2 separate regions of the Homo sapiens genome follow, and region 1 is linked to region 2. The links are contacts of gene promoters, found by promoter capture Hi-C in blood cells and fetal thymus (Javierre and others, 2016). All regions are on one chromosome and are shown on one strand. The core of a region is centred on a gene start or on the middle of the fragment in contact, and the rest is flanking DNA. Distances in the headings are between cores, read along the strand shown.

What was found. Contacts are between HindIII fragments. The CHiCAGO score rates a contact against its expected background, and 5 or more counts as called.
Region 1: a fragment that was not itself captured here is called in contact with the fragment with the promoter of SEH1L in region 2 in 1 of 17 cell types (naive B cells); the score reaches 5.1 in naive B cells.

The regions. Positions count from the first base shown.
Region 1 is chr18:13,598,320-13,603,068 of GRCh38, forward strand. The region is part of intron 4 of LDLRAD4 (low density lipoprotein receptor class A domain containing 4); the gene reads left to right. Among named protein-coding and RNA genes, the nearest start is that of MIR4526, 10 kb to the right of the region's middle. The HindIII fragment of the contact is 2,179 bases long and covers 284-2,462 here.
Region 2 is chr18:12,945,825-12,951,189 of GRCh38, forward strand. It overlaps SEH1L (SEH1 like nucleoporin), which reads left to right and starts at 2,187. Exons shown (of 9, transcript NM_001013437.2): 1 at 2,187-2,408. The coding sequence starts at 2,298. RefSeq lists silencers at 1,885-2,334, 2,375-2,724, 2,735-2,834 and an enhancer at 2,766-3,367. The HindIII fragment of the contact is 15,085 bases long and covers 1,145-5,365 here.

The DNA of each region.
Region 1 (4,749 bases), core at 123-2,622, 650 kb after region 2:
TTAGCAGAGCTCTCTTTGTTTCTTTGCTTCATATTTCTGTCAAGCTGTCTGCCTTAGTTGGTATCACACCCAGCTGTTAGTTTCCACTAATTGCTGGCTAATTGCTTTATTGTTTTCCTCTATGCCTGGGGCATAAATCACTACAGAGTCTGATCCAACTAAATTCAGGCCCCTTTGCAGGGGTCATTTTTGATCTAGCCTTTGAGGTTTGTTCTGACCCCAGAAAGGTTCTTCTTAACTGTCTCTTTCTCTGATTCTCTGTAAAATTGCTGACCTAGAGTTAAGCTTGTCACTCTCAAAGAGCTACTAGCCTCCTCTCAATTTCTTACTACCAAAATTTCTACAGTTTTTGAAAGCACCCTTACACTTGAGCTTCCTCACATACTGTTCTAAATAAAGTAAGTTTTCGGTAGCAGAGCTTTGGAACTCTTTGTTCTTATGGCCTGCCTGTACACTCTGGGCAAAATCTCTGAGTTGATGCTCCACAGCTGGAGTGGGGACATTAGCTCACTTCTCTGAGTGAGCCCTCCTCAACTTTATGGGCAGGATGGGCAGGACACTGGGTAGAGGTAGTAGCCGCTGGTCTTTTTAGCTTGCCTCTCCTTACATGGAATTTCCACCCTGTGAATGAACTGGGCTAGAAGCAGTTGGGACCATGCTATCATTAGCCTGCCATTCCTCGGATAGATCTTCTGCCCTAAGAGTGGGGGTGAGGAAGGGGTAGAACAAGGAAGGCCAAGTGGTAATAGGAAGCCTATGGCCTCTTGACTGCATTCACCTGTAATTTAACCTCTGCAACAGGGACGTGCTGTGCTTGCCTTTCACTGGAGATGCCATAGGCTTTGTTGGGAAGTGGGGAGAGAGGAAACTCTTGTTTTTTTGCCACACCCACTCAGTGTAGATCTTCCCTGTGCTGAACTGGGGAAGGGAGAGGGAAGGAGTGGGTTGTGGCTCAAGTGCCACAGACTGTCACTGTTCTTACAATGGAAGTAAGAGATTTTAATAGATTTTCTTGAAACAAGATATTTATTAATCTGCTGAAATTCCCTTGGACAATTTTCAGAGACTCAAAATGGTTACTCTTTTACATAATTTCAGCAATTATGGTTGTTTTCCTGGCAAGTGAGTCTGTGGAACTTCTCAGCTCACTATTCTTTGAGTCTCCAATTTTTTTTTTTTTTTTTTTTTTGAGACAGAGTCTCACTCAGTCACCCAGGATGGAGTGTAGTGGCGTGATCACGGCTCACTGCAAGCTCCACCTCCTGGGTTCACGCCATTTTCCTGCCTCAGCCTCCTGAGTGGCTGGGACTACAGGCGCCCGCCACCACACCCGGCTAATTTTTTTGTATTTTTAGTAGAGATGGGGTTTCACCCTGTTAGCCAGGATGGTCTCGATCTCCTGACCTCGTGATCCGCCTGTCTTGGCCTCCCATAGTGCTGGGATTACAGGCATGAGCCACCGCACCCGGCCGTGAGTCTCCTATATTATATTTTAACTGTGTTAAAGTTTCAAACACAATATATATGTGGACAAGTCATGTTTTTCTTACTAATTGATTGAAACTAAATTATACAGCAAACCTTTCTTTTAAATGAGCAAAAGAAAGAAAATTATCTTTATATTCTATAAATAACATTAAAGATTGTTTTGGATTTTATTATATATCTTTTAAAAATAGAGACAGGGTCTCACTATATTGACCAGTCTGGTCTCAAACTCCTGAGCAAATGAAGCAATCCTCTTGCCTTAGCCTCCCAGGTAGCTGAAACTATAGGCACATACCACTATACCTGTAATTTTATTATACAATTTTTAATAATATGCTTGCCTCAAATGTTTTATTTAAAATATCTAGCATATCAGGCCTGTGATTTTTTGGATATTGTTACTTAGAAGTTAAATTTTTTAAAAAATGAATTAATTGAAGTCCAGTTTAAAATCAATATTAAATAAATAATAGAACATGTGGAGTGCAGGTATTTTAAGAATCCTTAGGGTGGGACTTGAAGGACTTGGACTGAAGTGTGCAAGACATTGATTTGGTCCTAGCAATGAAATGAGACATGTGAGGACTGCACAGCTGTGTGACTCAAGATGTCACTTTCAGCTAGCAGGACAGGTGGCACTAGACCCTGGGTCTCCTGACCAGCATCCAACTGCATCAAGAGTCACTAAAGCCAAAATGTTCCAGGCATAATGACAGCAGACAGAATCTGTAGCCTAAGACTTCCAGGGCATTCAGCTGGAGTCTGATCAAGGTTCGCCATTTGCTGTTTTGTCTGTTTGAGCTAAAAATCACCAAGAAGACCATGTGTGACCAAATTGCCACCCTGCAGCCAACCTTTGCCAGGATTTCTGCCTCTCAGAGGATGAATGGTGATAGACTGGTTTGGAAAATTTTTCTGTAAGGTATATTATAGGAAACAAAATTGTAAAGGTATTTGCAGTATTACCATTTCTAAGCTTGTAAATTTTTTTAAAATTACTTTTATTTGTATAACCAAAATTAGATGGGTTTCTGCCAGAGTAGCATTCCTTCTATGAGGACTCTACATTTTTATTATTAACACTCTATTTTACTGTATTTGCTTTCCTGCTGTGGGTATTTACTATGTTGAGAATAACAGACTTAATTAAGGTCATTTTTAATCAAAACAAGACCATGTTTCTCCTTATCTGCATAAAAGGCACTATCAGGCCTTTAGGGAGGATGGGCACCTGTTCTCCTAACCCTTTGGCTTCTGTCCATTTCATGGTGGCAAGGTGTCATCATAAAGTCCAGTCGATCCATCTCCATTATCTCTGGTTAACCAGGGGCCTCACATTCACAGCTAAGTTTGTCATGTTTCCATTTGTCAGCCCTGTAGAAATATTTTAAACGCAGAAATCTGATGTTATAATGCATTTAACAATGATCATTTATCCAAAATCTATGAGGAATGTAAACAAATCAATGAGAATAAAACAAATAACCCCACTAAAAACTGGGCAAAGGACATGAACAAACACTTCTCAAAAGAAGACTTACAAGTGACCAACAAACATAGGAAAAAATGCTCAACATCACTAACCATAAGAGAAATGCAAATCAAAACCACAGTGACCACCTCACAGCAGTCAAAACAGCTATTATTAAAAAGACAAAAAATAACAGATATTGACGAGGCTGCAGAGAAAAGGGAACACTTCCGGGCATGGTGGCGGGCGCCTGTAGTCCCAGCTACTCGGGAGGCTGAGGCAGGAGAATGGCATGAACCCGGGAGGCGGAGCTTGCAGTGAGCCAAGATTGCGCCACGGCACTCCAGCCTGGGCGACAGAGTGAGACTCTGTCTGAAAAAAAAAAAAAGAAAAAAAAAGGAAAAGAAAAGGGAACACTTACACACTCTTGGTGGAAATGCAAGTTAGTTCAGCCACTATAGAATGCAGTTTGGAGATTTCTCAAAGAACTGAAAATAGAACTACCATTCCACCCAGCAATCCCACTACTGGATATATGCCCAAAGGAAAATAAATCAGTCTACCAAAAAGACACTTGCACCTGTATATTTATTGTAGCACTTGTTCACAATAGCAAAGACATGGAATCAACCTAGATGTCCATCCGTAGTGGATGAAGAAAATGTGGTACATATGCACCATGAAGTACTACACAGCTGTGAAAAAGAATGAAATCATGTCCTTTGCAGAAACATGGATGCAGCCGGAGGCCATTATTCTAAGTGAATTAATGCAGAAACAGAAAAAGTAAATATAAGTATTTTCTCACTTATACATGGAAGCTAAGCACTGGATACTCATGGACATAGAAATGGGAACAATAGAAACTGGGGACTCCAAAAGGAAGGAAGGAGAGAGGTGGGAAAGGGCTGAAAAACTTCCTATCGGGTATTATGCTCACTGTCTTGGAGACAAGATCAATAGAAGCACAAGCCCCAGCAGCATGCAGTATAACCTTGTATCAAACCTGCACATGTACCCCCGAACCTGATACTAAAAGTAAAAAAGAACTTGATCGTATCAGACAGTTTAGTAGGGGTTAGAATTTCAACCCAGGATATCTGACTGCAAATCCACATCCTTCCCAAAGCAGTATATTGGTTGCTTTGGGAATCATCATTGGTGGTGGGATGGGGGGAATTTTATCAGACATCATTCTTAAACCATGGCATTTAATTTTTTTTTTTTTTTTTTTTTTTGAGATGGAGTCTCACTCTGTCACCCAGGCTGGAGTGGAGTGGCACAATCTCAGCTCATTGCAACCTCCGCCTCCCGGGTTCAAGGAATTTCTAACTAATTTTTGTATTTTTAGTAGAGTCTGGGTTTCAACATATTGGCCAGGCTGGTCTCGAACTTCTGACCTTAAGTGATCTGCCCACCTTGGCCTCCCAAAGTGTTAAGATTACAGGTGTGAGCCACTGTGCCCGGCCTAATTTTTTATTTAAAAAATAAAAAGAAGAAAAACTAGAAATTAAAAAACAAATAAAAATTTGTCATTTCAGTACTTTTTCAAGTCACAAATAAGTAAAATATTGAACTAAGCAATCCCTCCAGGCACATCATGGCTTTCAGCATTGGAACAGGTTCCAAGGAATCCTATTGGAGAGGACATTTAATGGGAGGACATCGCTATATGTTTTCAGTCAGAAAGAAAAGAAAGGCTATGGACATAACAAATTTAAAACAGTGAAAAAGAAAAGTGTTGAGGGAGCTTTTATTCTAGAAAACTCTGATTTTTATAAATATTTAAG
Region 2 (5,365 bases), core at 937-3,436:
AGGAGTTGCGAACATGTCCACACAAAAACCTGTACACAGATGTTTGTAGGAGCTTTATTGATAATTGCCCAAACACAGAAACAACCAGAATGCCCTTTAGTTGGGGAATGAATAAACACTGTTACAGCCTGACAATGGAATATTATTCAGCACTAAAAAGAAATGAACTCTCAAGACAAGACATGGAGAAAGCTTAAATGCATATTACTATAAGGAAAGAAGCCAATCTGAAAAGGCTAGCCACTCCAAGATTCCCATTATATGCCATTCTGGAAAAGTCAAAACCATGCAGTCAGTGGAAAGATCAGCGGTTGCCAGGTGTTGTCGGAAGAAAGGGATGAACAGGAGCACTAAGGATTTTCAGGGCAGTCAAACTATTCCGCGTGATACTATAATGGTGGATCCATGTCATTATATATTTGCCAAAACCCACAGAATAAAACACCAAGAGTGAACCCTAATGCAAACTCTGAATTTTGGGTGATAATGATGTGTCAATGTAGGTTCACTGATCATAACAAAGGTACCACTTTGGTATGGGATGTTGACAGTGGAGGATGCTGTGCATGTGTGACAGTAGGGGTACATACGGGAACTCTATTTTCTGCTCAATTTTGCTGTGAACCTGAAAGTGTTCTAAAAACTAAAGTCTATTTTAAAAAATCCACTGTTTCACCTAATTCAACACTTCACTCCCACTCTGATAATCTCTGGCAACCAATGATCTGTTTACTGTCTGTATTTAAATTTAATTAAAACAATTTTTAAACTGTTTTGATATTTTTATAATAATCAATATATTTTGATTGGACTTTTATAGTGAGCACTTTCTTTGGAAATGAGTGTCTTTGACCTTCAAAAAAGTTATAGTTGTTATCAGTTATCATAAGAGGTGGGGCCCACCTCTTAAAGTAGCAATAAAATCTTATTTATGGTTGAAAAAGGTCAGGTCATTGCGCCACTTCTCTTTGCAGGTTTCTGTGCAATCCATCAGGGGACAGCTGGGACTAATCATTTAAAAAACTTTCCAGCCTGCTAATTTTACCATACCTCACATTTTTGTCATTCCTGGCCAAAATCCAAAGGGCAAGTCCCTTCTGCAGCCTCATTTTTTTTTTTTCTGTACTTTCGCTCCCCTGACGCAAGCTTCCACTGTCTCCCATCCTAACTTTACCACTACGCCCTCTAGAATGCCTTTTCCTGATAAGCAAAACCCCCCGAGTCGTTGGCTCCTCCACTTTCCGGTTTTGGCAGAATCCTTGATCTGAGCCAGGCCTCTTCCCAGGGGCTCTGGCCCTCTTCACTTCCTTTTCCCCGGAGGACTCTGGCTCCCGGGTAGCAAGCAGCCCACTTCCCCGGCCGCTTCCTTCCCCCGGGATGACACGTTTCTACAGGCGGACTCTTCTAATTCATACTATTTCCCTACCCCCGTGGTGGCTCCTAGCACCCCCAGGCCTGTTCTACCTGTAAAATCTTGACACATTTAAACTACTACTTCTGATCCTTTCCTCCCCGTCCAGCCTTCGCTCTTAGGCTGCCGAGCCTGGACTGCTTGTCATCCCCTCAGGCGTCTCCCCGGCCCTCCCTGCTCTTCAGCCGTCCCGACGGAGCGCGGCTCCTGACCAAACCCACGGTTCGTCTTCTCCACCTGCTCCGCGCGCCTCGCATGTGTCTGGGGGGAAACACATCCAAACGTCGACTTAAATGATTCAGGGCCGAGGACCGTGAGAGGCAGTCTTCACTTTTTCATCTTTCTTCATTTGCACAGTATACCAATAAGCTCTTACTACTTCTCAGCACAGGTAACTCGCCTTTTGCAGAGCACCCTCCGCCGCCGAACGGTCAGAGCCTGGAGGAACCCGCACCAGGATCGTAGGGCATGACGGGCCGGGGGCGGGACGAGGATTGACGAGCCGGGAACAGGGCGGGGCTTGAGGGGGCGGGAGGGTGGGGCGAGGCATGACGGCTCTGGTGGGAGGGTAGGCGGGGCTTGACGGGCCTGGGGGCGGGGCGGGGCTTGAGGGACCGGAAGGTGGGGCGAGTCATGACGGGCCGGGGCGTGGGCAGGGCTTGAGGGGCCAGGGGACTGTGTGGGGCCTGACGGGCCGGTGGGTGGGGCGGGGCTTGAAGGACCGGAGGGTGTGTGGGCGGGGCTTGATAGGCAGGGGCGGTGCGGGGGCGTGGGCAGCACAAGCCGTGCGCTCCCGGGCTGCGAGGTCTGGCTAGGCTACGGGCCACGCGCCGCCGCCGCTGCCGCCGCCACTGTCCTCTTCGGAGGCGCGGGCCCGACGGAAACCATGTTTGTGGCTCGCAGCATCGCGGCGGACCACAAGGATCTCATCCACGATGTCTCTTTCGACTTCCACGGGCGGCGGATGGCAACCTGCTCCAGCGATCAGAGCGTTAAGGTGCGCGCGGCGCTTGCGGGCGGGGCCGACCCCGGAAGGAAGGAAGGGGAGTGGGTGGGCGGCGCGGGGAACGGGGCTGTGTCTTGGTTCAGTGACGCCGCTGGAAGCTGTGGGGTGGCGGGCGAGCCCTGGCTGGACTGAGCGGAAGCCCTCCCCGCCCGCGTATTGTGGGGTCACGGCGGCCTCGCGGGCCGCCCTCCCGTGCGCCTGCGCAGCTGGTGCCACGTGCGCGCTCCCGCCCGCAGGGTACGCCGGGCCCTCTCCCAGGCCGCGCTGCCGGGGCTGCGGGCGGGAACCCAGGGGCATCCCACCGTCAGCCTCGGCGTCGTGGGTCTTGCCCGCGCTGTTCACCCGACGACCTGCAGTGGGACCTGGTGGGAGACTTTGCCTGGCTGGCGCTGCGTCGAGTTCTGTGCCCCGCCGGTGTTCTCTCACCAGGGCACATGGTTTTCTCCGTGGGTTCAGAGCAGAAGCTCACTTTGTTACGCCGAGGAAGAAAAATACAAACCATTTACATCCAATGATTTCCCTGCTTGCTGCCCAGGAATCGGAGGGTTTGTTTCTTGAAGTTCCCGTAAACGTCTGTAGACACTTCCGACAAGCAGAATTTCTTTTCTTTTTTTTTTTTTTTTTTTGAGACCGAGTCTCACTCTGTCACCCAGGCTGGAGTGCAATGGCACGATCTCGGCTCACTGCAACGTCCGCCTCCCGCTTTCAGGCGATTATCCTGCCCCAGCCTCCCAAGTAGCAGGGATTACAGGTGCACGCCACCACCCCCGGCTAATCTTTTTTTTTTTTTGTATTTTTTAGTAGAGACAGAGTTTCACCATGTGGGCCAGGCTGGTCTCGAACTCCTGACCTCGTGATCCACCCGCCTCGGCGCCTCGGCCTCCCAAAGTGCTGGGATTACAGGCGTGAGCCACCGCGCCCGGCCTACAAGCAGAATTTCTAATGTGGGGATGCTACATGAGATTTAGGAACCTCCCAGATGTGTTGCAGGATGAATGAAAGCTGGAGTGCGGATTATTTGGTTCTCGACAACTCCAGAGTAACTGGAAATCTGAAGGATAGTTTATCCTTTTTCACATTCGAGTTTGATACCAGTGATCTCTCAAAGATAAACTTTTTATAAATAGTGTTGCAATTTTTAAAAGATGTAGTTTCTTTTTTAAAACAAGTTTATTTTTGTTGTAATAAACTACGTTAACCGTTTTTTTTTTTTTTTTTTTTTTTTTTTTGAGACGGAGTCTTGCTCTGTCACCCAGGCTGGAGTGGGGTGGCGCAATCTTGGCTCACTGCAAGCTCCGCCTCCCGGGTTCACGCCATTCTCCTGCCTCAGCCTCCCAAGTAGCTGGGACTACAGGCGCCCGCCACCACGCCCGGCTAATTTTTTGTATTTTTTAGTAGAGACAGGGTTTCACCATGTTAGCCAGGATGGTCTCTATCTCCTGACCTCGTGATCCGCCCACCTCGGCCTCCCAAAGTGCTAGGATTACGGGCGTGAGCCACCGCGCCCGGCCCACGTTAACCGTTTTAAAGTGTAGAATTCAGTGGCATAGAGCACAGCATTCACATTTTTGTGCAGCGTCGCCCCTGCCCATCTCCAGAACCTTTTCATCATCCTAAACTGAAACTCTGTACCCAAGAGCACCCTGTTCCGCCACCCCATCCTCTGGTAACCTCTATTCTACTGCTTTCTATTAATTTGCATATTCTAGGTACCTCAGATAAATAGAATCATAGAATATTCGCCCTTTTATATTTGGTTTATTTCACTTAGTATAATTTTTTTTTTCTTTTTTCTTTTTCCTTTTTTTTTGAGGCAGAGTCTGGCTCTGTCACCCAGGCTGGAGTGCAGTGGTGCGATCTTGGCTTGTTGCAGCCTCAACATCCCAGGTTCAAGCCATCCTCCCACCTTAGCCTCTCCAGTAGCTGGGACTACGAGTGCACGCCACCACGCCTGGCCAATTAAAACATTTTTTTTGTAGAGGCAGGGTCTTGCTGCGTTGCCCAGGCTAGTCTCGAACTCCTGAGCTCAAGTGATCCTCTCACCTCAGCCTCCCAGAGTGCTGGGATTACAGGTGTGAGTCACCTTGCCCAGCCCTCTTAGGTCCATTTATTCCAGAGTACTTTTTTTTTAAAGGAGGAGCCATGTATTTATTTGTATATATTTTTAATTGAGCAAGTAATATATTTTTCTTTTTAGAAAGTGAAAAAATTATAGACTTATTGCTAATGTGTTAATATTTATTGATTTCCTCTGTTTTTCCTTTAACGTTTTAAGTTGTCATGGTAGAGTGTGTGTATATACGTATATGTCTTGTCAGAAATAGTGTTGTACTGAAATTTTTCATTAGTTTAGCATTTTATGTATTTTGAATGATTTTCTTAGGCTAATTCTAGAAGATAAATTAGTGGATATTTTAAACACTATTGAAGAGAATTGACAAATTGCTATTTTGCAGGTCGTACCGTTTTATACCGCCAGTGATAGTATTGATTTGATAGTGTTATTGCCCTCGTTACATTTTTAACAGGTGAAATTGGCACCTTCTTATTGTAATCTATATTTTTTCTGGGTAATAAGGTTTAATTTTTTTGTTTTGAGATGGAGTCTTGCCATGTTGCCCAGGCTGGAGTGCAGTGGCTATTCACGGGCGTGATCATAGCCTTAAACTCCTGGGCTCAAGTAATCCCTCCTGCCTCAGCCTCTTGAGTAGCTGGGACTACAGGTGTGCACCACCATGCCTGGTTTCAATATTTTTGCTTTACCATTTGTTACATGTACAGTTGAGCCTGTTGTTTGTAGATTCTGTATTTTTTGAATTTGTCTACTCTGAAATTTACTTGTACCCCAAAAGTCACACTGGTTTTGCAGTCATTTGTGCATGTGTGAGGAGTGGTGAAAAAGTTTGAGTCTCAGGACAGACGTTTCCCATTGAGGTGAAACCAGGCGA